Regions from separate parts of the Homo sapiens genome. Here regions 1 and 3 are each linked to region 2. Evidence: promoter capture Hi-C in 16 types of primary human blood cells and fetal thymus (Javierre and others, 2016). All regions are on one chromosome and are shown on one strand. The core of a region is centred on a gene start or on the middle of the fragment in contact, and the rest is flanking DNA. Distances in the headings are between cores, read along the strand shown. Region 1 overlaps LOC105372666 (a long non-coding RNA gene). Region 2 holds the start of TSHZ2 (teashirt zinc finger homeobox 2). Region 3 overlaps LOC105372666 (a long non-coding RNA gene).

Region 1 (4,006 bases), core at 429-2,928, 670 kb after region 2:
GGTTCCTGTAAGAAACCTCTAGTATTTCTCCTTACCTGGGGGCAGAGAGTCATTCAACCCAACAGAAGTATTCTGTAGACAAAACAGATCATAATTATTAAGCCTCTGAAAACATGTGAGGTTGTACAAATAAACTGTTAATTTTTAAAAACCACAATACTAATTCTAATATATACCCAGGGATGGTAAATTTTCTCTGTGAAGGGCAAAACAGTAAATACTTTTCGATGTCACGAACCAAACAGTATCTATTGGAACTAATGAACTGCTGTTGTAGCATGATGTTTTCTATAGACGGCATGTGAGTGAATCGACACAGCCACGTTCCAATAAAACTTTATTTACAGCAGTAAGTGATGGGCCAAATTTGGCTCCTGGGCTGTAGTTTGCTGTTCTCTGATCTATTCTATATTATAATTATAAGCATATACGGGTGTGATCTTTATGAACATGGACGAATGGGAACAGAAGAATGGAAGCTCTCATCTCTTTGGGGATTGGGATTATCAGTTGGGTGGCTCTCTGCTATTTTTGTCTATTGATTTATTCTTCTGGGAATGCCACCCTGATTGGGTAGGAGGGAGTAGAGAACTACTTGTCCATCATCTTTAACTCACTGAGTCCAAGAAATTAACCCACCCTTAGATCCAAAGTAGGGCACATACCCGAGACCTGACCGCCCCCTGCCCCCACCACCCTGGTCATTCCACTGTCTTGGCCATGGTAATCTGTTCAGACAGGAGCATGAGCACAAGCAGACCAATATGAAACTCACTTCCTTGTTTTGCTTTGATTTTAATATTAAGAGAGAGAGAACCTCAGGCTGCTGAGTTTACTGAAATCAAAGCATAGGAGGCTAAAAGTTTCTCATGGCCATTTTGCACCCCCAGGCATTGGTCCTGCTGAAGAATGATGCCCACACATTGGGAAACAGATCTAAGAAATGAAGAAATGATTATTCTACTTGAGCATTGTTTGAGTCTCAGATGAAGTGATATCTAAAAGTAATTCTGTTCCTGGATTTTTCTGTGACTCAAGCTCGTGTGTTTTTTCTCCATCTGAGCTTGTTCCAATTCAGTTTTTGTCACTTTCAACCAAAAATTTTAAATGAGATCATTGTTATGGGTTTTTTTTTCTTATTTTAAAAAGTCTTTCAATATCTGTATAATATCACTTTAGCAACAAATAAAATTGAGAGAAGATGGATGAAAAGGTAACATATTTTATGTATTCATTTCTGAAGCAAAACTCATGTTCCATTTTGGCAGTGGGTGGCGGGGGGGCGTTCTTTGTCATTGGACTGACTGAGCCACTTGCAGTTCTGAAATTTGACTGAACAAATCTAAGTACTCTCTCCAAAAATGGACTGGGGGCCTATTTTGAAGCAAATATATAAAGACAGGGCTATAGCAGAGATCACAAATGATGACAATAGAAAATAATTCAGAAAAGACCATCTGACTCTGCAAAAATGCAGTGACATATGTAGGACAGCTGAGAGTCTCCAGGAGAGGATGAAAGCAACCGTGACCATCACGTGGCCACAACCTCCCTGAAAAACAGACTTCGGAAGGAAGCACAAATCTGACAGTGTTCCTGCCGTGCTTAAACCTCAGCCCCAATTCCCAGCTGCCTTCTTAAGCCCAGACTCCCATCGTGGCTATGATTGTCACAGAAGACAAACTTGAGTGTGCAAGAAATAAAATCTTTTAAAATTCTTCTGTAACTCCACTTAAACTGTTTTTATGTCAAGCCCTCCATCTACCTAATGGCAGAAAATTTAGTCACTTCCAGGTAAGTGCCATCATTCTGAGTTAAACACACAACCAATTTAGGATTCTGCACACACACACATACACACAGTCACAAACTCCTTCCTTCTTTTTTGGTAAGCGTCCAAGGACCAAGACATTTTGGAAAATAATCATGTTAGAAAGCAGAGTCTGGCCTGTCACTATACTTTGCTCTCTAGTAGCATCTGGTGGCATTTTCTGGTCTTGGGTGCTGTTGGTGTTTATCTCCCAGCATGTTCTGAGAAGCCCGTGTTACTCACTGTGTCTCTAGTTATCAAGTCTACCAAGGCCAACATGTGGCCTCCACATCAGGTCCCAGTGAGGCGTTCTACAGCCAACCACCCAACCACATTCCAGCCAGGGAGTAGCAAGTGGCCTCTCTACACAAAGAGGCCCCCAAACAGTTGCAAAGAACACTTCCACTTAAACCACTCTGGCCAGAAATTAGGCACATAGTCACACCCAGACACACAAAAAATGCTGGGGTTTGTCATGTTATTCTCATGTGCCTGGATAACCTTTGTGGGTCCAATTACTAAGAAAGAAGGGTTATATTAGCAGAAAACTTGCACTTTCTATCCAGATATTTCATATGTACCTCAAAATTGTCCAAGGCATAAATGTTACTGGAAAGGGGTCCCTATCCAGACCCCAAGAGAGGGTTCTTGGATCTCATGCAAGAAAGAATTCAAGGTGAATCCATACAGTAAAGTGAAAGCAAGTTTATTAAGAAAGTCAAGGAATAAAGATATGGCTATGCCATTGGCAAAGCAGCCCTGAGGGCTGCTGGTTGCCCAGTTTTATGGTTATTTCTTGATGATATGCTAAACAAGGGGTGGATTATTCATGCCTCCCCTTTTTAGACCATACAGGGTAACTTCCTGATGTTGGCATGGCATTTGTAAACTATCGTGGCGCTGGTGGGAGTGTAGCAGTGACGAGGACCAGAGGTCATTCTCATCGCCATCTTGGTTTTGGTGGGTTTTGGCCAGCTTCTTTGCTGTAAACTGTTTTATCAGCAAGGTCTTTATGACCTGTATCTTGTGCCAACCTCCTATCTTATCCTGTGACTTAGAATGTCTAACCTTCAGGGAATGCAGCCCAGTAGGGCTCAGTATTATTTTACCCAGCCCCGATTCAAAATGAAGACGCTCTGGTTTAAATGCCTCTGACATAAAGATAATCATAGAGATGCAATAAGTCAGAATACTGAAAACAAAGAACAAAAGAACAAGGGCAGATGACAAAATTAAAAGAACAAAGGTAACACTTACAATTTAAAAGTAAAGGTTTTACGATTCTCCATGGCCAAACGTTGAAACAGAAAAGAGAAAATAAAGAGTCAATAGCTGGGGAGTGAGAGAGGTGGATCCCAGCCAACAGTAGAGTAAAATTGAGGCCACCTCAAAATGTGAACAGACTCTTCAGTCACTTTCTTGATCTTTAATGGAAATAAACTGAGTGTGAAGCAGAGAAGGTGAGAAAAACACGGCTTATAAATGGAAATACACCAAACAAAGTGGAAACTTCGTATCAAGCCCACAGACAAGTCTCTGAACAAAGGGAAACTCTTTAGGGTCAAAAAATAAAAACAACTAGAAAAATGTGACCAAAGGGAAAGGTAAGCTTTGGGAAGAAACTAACAACAGTGCTCCCACCTAAAGCGGACACAAAGACTAGTAAAACTTGAGTGTTTGGTTTAGCAAAATAGAAAATCAGGTTTTATCCTGGAGTTTGATGCCTTGCACATTCATCCATCCTCTGGTTTTATACAGTTCTAATTCTCAGAAAGAGAGAGAAGAACCTGCCTGCCTTAAACTACACGCAAATTAAGGTGAGACTTTGGCTCCATTTTTTATTATATATAGCTATCATCTGCTCTAGAATGAGCTGGATTTCTTCCACTGAGTTCATATCTCCTTCTGTCTTTTTAAAAATGCATTTTAAAGCTTCATGTTTCTTTCTGGAAAATCTACCATAATGTAACAACAGATTTTAAAGCTTAAATGTATATTAATCATGATGCCAACAACCACAATCTAATATAGTCCTTACCTTTTACTGACAATGTGAATTTTAATTAAGTGTATAATGCATAATTAAGACCCGAAGTGCAGAATATATTTTTGGTCCTGTTTACTGTGTGTAAGAAACTCTAACATGGAATGAAGTTAGCCTCCCTCCTGCAAAAGACTCAAAATTTTACAAATTAA
Region 2 (4,440 bases), core at 161-2,660:
ACTTCAGCGCCCCAAGCCCCAGTGAGAGGAGACGCTATCCCTGGAGGCCAAAAGCCACTGGCACTGACCACGCAGAGGGATGCAGGGGTGGAGGGGCTGTCTCCCTACTCCGCACCCCAAATCCTCAATCCGACTTTGGCCCGAGAGGCAAGAAACAGACTGGAAGAAAGTTAGGGGTGGGGTAGAGGGTGGAGGAAAGAAAGTTTAAGGAGGAAAGGCTTGGTGGGATAGCTCACCCCAACCCAACCGGAGCTTGGAAGGGGAGGATTTGGGAGACCAGAGAAGGCGAGAGAGGACGGGGTTATTAGAAGGGCACCCGGCGCAAACTCCCCCGAAAGCTTAAGTGGGTGGTGCCCCCGGGCACCCAGGGGCAAGGAGGGCGGGCGAGGAGCTCGGCGCACAGGGCAGCCCCGAAGCGGAGCCGTTTCTCTTACCTGCCGCCCGCTTGGGTGCCTGCTGTTTTCTCCTCGGCATCCTCTACTTCGCTCCAGTCCCACTTCTGGCGCCCCAGCCCCGAGCCGCGCGCTGGGGCCCGCTGTCTCTCTGGCCTCTCTGGGTCTCCTCCGCCTCTTGCCCGGTGGCTCCTAGGACGTCACTCGGCCTCTGTCCCCCTGACGATCCCCCCTGCAACTCCTCCACCACGGGCCAGAGACCCCCCTCTCTGGGTGGCAGACACGGGTGGCTTGTGCCGGCTGCTTTGAAGTAGAGGTTGGTTCTGCCTTGTTTGTTTGTTTGTTTATTTTGAATTTTTTTTCCTCTCTCTTTTTTGTTTTTGCTTTTGGAATTTTTTTGGTTTTGTTTTTGCGGTTTTTTTTTTTTTTGGTGACTGTTGAGACACTTGATTTCTTTATTAAACATCCAAGCCCGGGTTCGGATGGAAGGGACGAGGGGCGCACACGCGCCACAGGCACACTCGCGCGTAAAGATAAGGAAAAAAAAAAGGCAATCCTGGGAAGGTAGTGGGTTTCTTCTTTTTCTTCTTCTTCCTTCTCCTCTTTCCCTCCTCCTCCTCCTCCTCCACCTCCTCCTCCACCTCCTCCTTCTTTTCTTCCTCCTCCTCCTCCTCCTCCTCGCCGATCTCTATGGCGGATTCGTGCCGGGGGGAGAGCGATCACTCACTGTAGGTTTGTGGCTGCTGTCAGATCCCCGTCTGTGAGTGATATGCGAGAGGACAGGAGCGGGTTTTGGAAAGACAGAAAATCTGGAATTCACTCACTCACACACACACACAGACACACACACAGACACTCACACACGCACTCACACGCGCACGCACCCCCGCTTCCTCGCACACACACACTCACACCCCCCACATATGCACACACACACAAACACACACACACACCCTCGCACACACACACAAGACAGGGCGAGGCGATGCCAGCAAACATCGATCCCGCTGAACAAACTGAACATTAACAAACTCCTCCTCCTCCTCCTCTCCCCGCGACCTGATGACAGGGAGAAATTTACTCCCCAGCCGCAGAGCGCCAGGCAGCGGGAGCCTATTAAAGGGACAGCGTCCCGCAGGGGAGAGGGGCTGGGGGCGGGGGCCCCGGCGCGCCGGCCCAGGCCCCTCTGTGCGCCCTCTCCGCCGGGGCGAGGGCGTGCCCACCGGGCGCGGGGACACCCCTCCGGGAGGCGGAAGGGGCGGGGGCGGGAGGAAAGGAGGTGAGGAGGGAAGGGGTGCGGGAGAAAAGGAGGCAGTGTGATGATGGCTGAACTCTGAAGCTGGGAGGCTGTGGAGGGAGATTCAGGGGGGCCAGGTTGGCTGACCAGCAGGGACCATGCACAATCTTAGGAGAGGGAGAACTTAGGTTTGCTCGGGGCTGGGAAGGGGGAGGGGACCTTATCCAGTGAGGATCTCCATCCTGTAAGTCTTAACCTGCCCCCACCAAAATGTGCTCCCCACGACCCCTTCAATTTAGTGCCCCTGTCCCTCCCACTTTCTCGCTAATCAATGGGTGGTCACAAAAACAAAAATCTCCCTTCTGTCTACTTTAAGGTCTAATCATATACTCCTCTTTTTGTTTCCTTTGAAGAATGTTTATTGAGCATCTACTATGTGCCTATTCTGGAGACACAGAGGCCACAGAGAAAGGGAAGGTGGTGGCCATGTTGGTATTTATATTCTAATGGGGGAGTGCAGACAAGTGCCCCCCAGCTATCCAATCTTTGCTTAAATGTCCCCTTTTCCCAAAGGTCTACCTCACCTAAAATACACACACACACACACACACACACTCCCTGCCCCATTTCTCCATTTTGTTATTCCCCAGTGAGCTGATCAGTGAGTGTCACACAGGTTATAGACAGTTTTCTATTCTGTTGATTGTACAAGTTCCCCTCTTGAATGTAAGCTCCAATGGAAGGAAGGATTTTTGCCTCTTTGTTCTCTTATATCCCCAAGTGCTGGCAAAGCACAAGACATATAATAAGTGCCCAGTAAAATATTTGTTGAATGAATGAAAAGTAAGCAAGCAAATAAACAGGATACTTTGAGTGATTCGCTCCATGAAGACGTTAAGCTGAGTGCTGTAATAGTGTCTAAAAGGGGGTGGGTGGCTCTAGATTCAATGTAGGATATGGCATTTGAGCACAGAGAGATTGAAACAAACATGTGATTATTGAGTTCTGCTATCGGCCAGGCACCTTTTGAGGTGTTGGGGGCAAGTCTGTGAACAAGGTGAACCTAGACCATGCCCTCAAGGAGTGCTCCTTCCAGTGAGAGGGCAAAGCAACTGAGGGCATTTGATGCAGGCTGGGACTAGAGGTGTTTTTTTTTGCTTTATTATTTTTTTTATTTCAATAGCTTTAGGGGTAAAAGTGGTTTTCGGTTACATGGATGAATTGCATAGTGGTGAAGTCTGGGATTTCAGTGCACCCGTCACCCGAGTAGTGTACATCGTACCCAATAGGTAGTTTTTCAGTCCTCACCCCCTTCCCATACTCCTCGCTTCTGAGTTGCCAATGTCCATGATATCTTTCCATATGCCTTTGCATACCCATGCATTAGCTCCCACTTATAACCAAGAACGTGTGGTATTTGGTTTTTGATCCTGAGTTACTTCACCTAGAATAACGGCCTCCAGCTCTATCCAAGTTGCTGTGAAAGACATTATTTTGTTCTTTACTATGGCTGAGTAGTATTCCACGGTGTATATATATGTGTGTATATACACACAAACACACATATATATACACAAATACACATATATAGATATATATACCACATTTTCTTTATACAATAATCAGTTGATGGGCACTTATGTTGATTTCATATCTTTGCAATTGTGCTGCAATGAATATACGCCTGCAGGTGTCTTTTTGACATAATGACTTTTTTTCCTTTGGGTAGATACCCAGTAGTGGGGTTGCTGGATCAAATGGTAGATCTACTTTTAATTCCTTGAGAAATCTCCATACTGTTCTCCATAGAGATTGTACTAATTTACATTCACACCAGCAGTGGGTATAAAAGTTCCCTTTTCCCCACATCCACACCAATATCTGTTGTTTTTTGACTTTTTAATAATGGCCATTCTGGCTAGGGTAAGGTGCTATCTCACTGCAGTTTTAATTTGCATTTACCCTGTGATTATTGATGTTCAGCATTTTTTCATTATGTTTGTTGGCCATTTGTCTGTCTCCTTTTGAGAAATGTCTATTCACGTCATTTGTCCACTTTTTAATGAGATTATTTTTTTTTTTTTCTTGCTGATTTGTTTGAGTTCCTTGTAGATTCTGGATATTAGTCCTTTGTCAGATGCATAGTTTGCAAATATTTTCACCCATTCTGTAGGTTGTCTGTTTGCTCTGATGATTGTTTCTTTTACTGGGTAGAATTTTTTTAGTTTAATTAGGCTCCATTTATTTATTTATTTTTGTTGCATTTGCTTTTGAGGGCTTAGTCAGAAATTCTTTGCCTAAGCCAATGTCCAGAAGAGTTTTTCTTAGGTTTTCTTCTAGAATATTTATGGTGTCAGGTCTTATGTTTAAAGTCTTTAATCCATCTTGAGTTAATTTTTATATATGGTCAGAGACAGGGATAGTTTCATTCTTCTACATGTGGCTATCCAATTTTCCCAGCACCATTTATTGAATAGGGCAGGGGTCCCGAACCCCTGAACCATGGACTAGCACCTGTCCATGGCCTGTAAGGAACTAGGTGGCACAGAAGGAGGTGAGCAGGTAGGGGTAAGCAAGCATTACCATTTGAGCTCTGTCACTTCAGCAGGGGCATTAGACTCTCATGGGAGCTCTAACTCTATTGTAAACTGTGAATGCAAGGGATCTAGGTTGCACACTCCTTATGAGAATCTAATGCCTAATGATCTGAGGTCAAACAGTTTTATCCCAAAACCATCCACCCTGCCCTGGTCCATGGAAAAATTGTCTTCCATGAAACCAGTCCCTGGTGAAAAAAAGGCTGGAGAACAC
Region 3 (4,518 bases), core at 976-3,475, 730 kb after region 2:
TCTTAGCATTTTGGAGCAGGAGAGAGAGACTGAAGGGGGAAGTGCCACACATTTTTAAACCATCAGATTTCATGAGAACACAGTTACTATCATGAGACCAGCAAAGGGAAAATCAGCCCCCATGATCCAATCACCTCCCACCAGGCCCCTCCCCTGACACGTGGGGATTACAATTTGACATGAGATTTGGGTGGGGACATAGAGTCAAACCATATCAATGGGTGATAGCCATTTGTCCACATATCTCAACTAGGTAAGCTAACACACTAAAAGGCTATTTGCAATTTGCTCCCTTTCTTCTCTGCCCCAGAACCAAGCAATCTTTGAGGCAACAATCTTCCACAAGCGTAACTTTTGCCTGGGTGGGCTATAATGAACCCATGTGGATACTCTCGTAAGCTACATCCTCCGATAAAACTTTTATCCGTAATGAAGATGATGTTTTTATCACCATCTCTCTGACTTTTGCGGTTCTCTCTCAATTGATTCAAAACTTAAACAAGAAAGAAGAATATTACTTTATTAGGCCCCACTCAAGCCCCAATGTACACACATCCATTATTAACAGACTTTCATATGACAATATTTTGTGGACACATTTCCACAGTGATAAAGATTAGCTTACCTATTGGCCGGGCTAAATACGTGTATTAGTCTGCCTTCATGCTACTGATAAAGACATACCCAAGACTGGGCAATTTATAAAGAAAAAGAGGTTTAATAGACTCACTGTTACACATGGCTGGGAAGCCCTTACAATCATGGCAGAAGGCAAAAGGCACATCTTCCATGGTGACAGACAAGAGAGAATGAGAGCCATGTGAAAGGGGAAACTTCTTATAAAACCATCAGATCTCGTGAGACTTATCCACTACCACAGGAACAGTATGGGGGAACCACCTCCATGATTCAATTATCTCCCACCAGGTCCCTTCCACAACTCATGGGAATTATGGGAGCTACAATTCAAGATGGGATTTGGGTGGGGACAGCCAAAACATATCAATACCTAACTACATTGTGCATTAATACATACATCCTGCATGGTATAAGAATTTATTTGGTCAATCCCCTATTGATAGGCAGTTGAGTGCTTTCAGTTTTTCACTGAAATAAACAACAGTGCAATGAGAATCTTGGCACATACATCTTAATGTACTTATCCAATTATTTCCCTAGGTTAATTCCTACAAGTGAAATTGCTGGATCGAAGCACATGGACAAGAAGTATCTGTGGCACTTATTGCAGAAAGTTTGCATTGGTGGAACCTCGAGTGTCTGCTTTCCCACATCCTTACCAGCACTGAGAATTTTCTTTTTCATGTTTTCCACCTCTCTGAAATAAAATTAATACCTGATTTTGTTTGCAATTTCATTTTTACTGAGGCTGCATAATTTTTCATATACTTATTTTTCTATGAATTGCCTGAGGATATTAAATTTTGTTACCATAGCCAATGCCCATAGAGGCATTTGTTCAGTGTCAACTTACATCAAAAGTGCCTCTCCCAGCCTCTTCTCTCACCACTCTGCTCATGCACCCATCCTAAAGTCAAGAATCAGAGTTGTAAGCAACAGAAACCACCTCTGGCTACTTTGAGTGGAAATGGAATTTAATAAAGGATATTTTGTGATCAGACAATCCCCATGAGAAACAGAGAACCAGCTCAGCCAGGAAACAAATCCAAAAGCTCCTGAAGAACTACCTCATGAAACACCAAGGAGCCCCTCTAGACTCAGATCCGGGGGCTTGCACCACCTGCATCACCGTGTGGCTCTGAACACCACCACGAAAGCCCCTGGAGCTGCTGGATCCAGGACCTGGGTGGAGCTCCCACAGCACTCCCCAGCATGGGTCCCACATGGTGCCTGCTTCAGCTCACCAGCAAGAAGCTCAGGGTCTGGGGTGGGGTGTCTGGCTGTAGCTGCGCCCTAGCTGCAAGAGAGGCTGGGAAGGTGAGCCTCTGCCTGCTACAATGGATGACAAAGACATCTGGGACATTTTCCAAGCCTAGGAAAAATGCACACACACACACACAAAACAGAGGTTTGAACAACCAGAAGAAATAGCAAATGTACAATTCTTAAGGACCAGATCCATGTCTATGACACCTTTAGATGTTCAGAAGCTTCCATCTGTTCTATCCAAGTCAGGAAATCTGGAGTTCCTCCTCATCTACCCCTAATACATCAATTATCTCCCTTTTATAAATGCTGATTCCTCTCTCTAAAATGGTCTCTCTTCTGACTGTCAAAATGTTGGTCCAAACTACACTCCATTAAAAATTAAACTTAAAATATATTGTAGAATCTGAAGCTTCAAACTGTATCCCATGAGAAAAAAAACAACCTGTTTTCTGCTTCTTGCTACATTTCGAAGGAGACATTTGACTCATTCTTATGTGGAGGATGACTTTCCCCAGGATGGAAGACAAACATTCTCAAACAGACATGGTCCCTGTCCTCCTGGTACCTACAATACTAAAAAGGAAAAAAAAAAAAAAAAAAAAAAAAAGTTTGGAGCTTCCTGTAAGCGAAGCCCTGAAGGTTCCAGGAGGTTTGGGCACCTGGAAAGGGCATGGAAGCTGAGTGCCCCTTCCCACATTCCTTGCCCTATCCATCTCTTCATCTGGTGTTCATCGATATCCTTTGTAATGTCCTTAATAGTAAACCGGAAAACATGTACACCTAACAGCATGGTAAGGAAGCCCCAGAAGGATGTTTCTAAAGACCATGAGGGAGTCTGAAACCTGAAATCACGCCAAGGACTCTCTGCTTCCCTTTCACTTGGGGTGTCTACCTGATGCTGCCACAACCAATTGAAACATAACATTAATAACAAAATTAGTTTTTTTGTAACTTTAAAAAAAAGTGCTTAATGAATGAACAGGAACTTCTTCCTTAATCCAGAATTCTTCCAGCCATTCCTTTCCATTTTTTTCTGCACTGCAGCGATGGAGGCCTGTGATGAAAAATCACCTAATGGTGTTGATTGATAACTTGACAAGTGTAGACAGATATAAACATGTTTTGATACAGGCATTCAATTTGCTTGACTTTCTCTTTGCCGCACTGGATGGTGTCTCCCAGAAATGGTGATTGGGCATCTATGTGTCTCAAAGACCAAACTATCTCTGCCCTTGAAGAAGGAGGATCTACTTTTATAACATTAGCAATCAGAGCTCCATTTGAATGGGCAATCAGGCCCTTTCCAGAGAGCTCTGGGTGGTGTTGGGGAGGGCTTCTGTACCCATTCTTGTCAGCAGGATGGGACCCCCAGGAGGTATTTCCAAAGCTGGGATGTGTGGACCCTGTGTATTATAAAAATTTTATTTTTATAACTTTTTTTAATATTATAAAATATGCATTGGAAAAATCCAAATATTATAATATTTGTAATATTATAAAATATGCACTGGAAAAGAAATACACCACAAGAAGAGTAGTGGTTGTCTTGGTGAGGTTAAATTAATAAGATTTTTACATTGTTTTTATTTCTTTAATCTTCTACTATACCACTGCCCCCTCTCTCCCTTCATCTTCACTAGTGGAGGATCTGCCCAGCTTTCAAGACACATCTGCTCTCTCTCTTTCCTTCCTCCCCATTTATTTGTTCTCTCTCTCATTCTCCTCTCTCATTCTCTTCTCTTTCCTATTCATTTTCAAATCAATATCTCTTCCCCCTCCTCTCTCATTTACTTTGTCTCTCTCCCATCCATCCTCATTTTTCCTACCCAGCTTAGCAACTCACAAGACCTCTGGCCAGCTCCACTGTCTCTGGCTTGCATGGCCTGGGATTAGATTTAATTGTGTATTCATCTCATCTCTGCTGGTGCTGCTGCCCTCTTTGTGGGCACAGACTCTATTTAACTCATTTTTAATTTCAAGCCATGAGTAACATAGCAGCTTACACAGGTTAGGTACTCAACAAATGTTCACAGATTTGAATTCTCATGTTGTCTTTAACCAAGGAAGGTTTACCTTATCAGATTAATGGTCTCCAATGCCACTTCTAAGAAATTGAATCTGCTTGAACCTAGCAATATCCTTGAAACTAGGGCTTGAGGTTTTCCATGAAATCCACACGTGGCACCACGGAAGTTGTCCCACCTCCTCACAGGCATCAGGTGAGTCCTCATGAAAATTTCCGTAACTGTCTCCCAGGTCATAACTTTAGTAAGTTATTCCTGGTTTTAAGAAATGAGAAAGCTGGGCGCGGTGGCTCACGCCTGTAATCCCAGCACTTTGGGAAGCTGAGGTGGGCGGATCATCTGAGGTTGGAAGTTCGAGACCAGCCTGACCAACATGGAGAAACCCCATCTCTACTAAAAATACGAAATTAGCTGAGTGTGGTGGCGTGTGCCTGTAATCCCAGCTACTGGGGAGGCTGAGACAGGAGAATTGCTTGAACCCAGGAGGCAGAGGTTGCAGTGAGCCAAGATTGTGCCATGGCACTCTAGTCTGGGCAACAACAGCAAAGCTCCATCCCAAAAAAAAAAGAAAAAAAGGAAAGAAAGA

Evidence for each region. Contacts are between HindIII fragments. The CHiCAGO score rates a contact against its expected background, and 5 or more counts as called.
Region 1: a contact is called between a fragment that was not itself captured here and the fragment with the promoter of TSHZ2 in region 2, in 4 of 17 cell types (total CD4 T cells, activated CD4 T cells, non-activated CD4 T cells and 1 more). The highest score is 6.7, in total CD4 T cells.
Region 3: a fragment that was not itself captured here is called in contact with the fragment with the promoter of TSHZ2 in region 2 in 1 of 17 cell types (total CD4 T cells); the score reaches 7.1 in total CD4 T cells.

Annotation. Positions count from the first base shown.
Region 1 is chr20:52,301,021-52,305,026 of GRCh38, reverse strand. LOC105372666 (a long non-coding RNA gene) reads right to left here. Exons shown (of 17, transcript XR_007067652.1): 3 at 36-72. Among named protein-coding and RNA genes, the nearest start is that of ZFP64, 110 kb to the right of the region's middle. The HindIII fragment of the contact is 3,487 bases long and covers 1-3,421 here.
Region 2 is chr20:52,969,328-52,973,767 of GRCh38, reverse strand. It overlaps TSHZ2 (teashirt zinc finger homeobox 2), which reads right to left and starts at 1,410. Exons shown (of 3, transcript NM_173485.6): 1 at 435-1,410. The coding sequence starts at 474. The HindIII fragment of the contact is 5,636 bases long and covers 341-4,440 here.
Region 3 is chr20:52,245,064-52,249,581 of GRCh38, reverse strand. All of the region lies in intron 2 of LOC105372666 (a long non-coding RNA gene), which reads right to left. Among named protein-coding and RNA genes, the nearest start is that of ZFP64, 56 kb to the right of the region's middle. The HindIII fragment of the contact is 188 bases long and covers 2,132-2,319 here.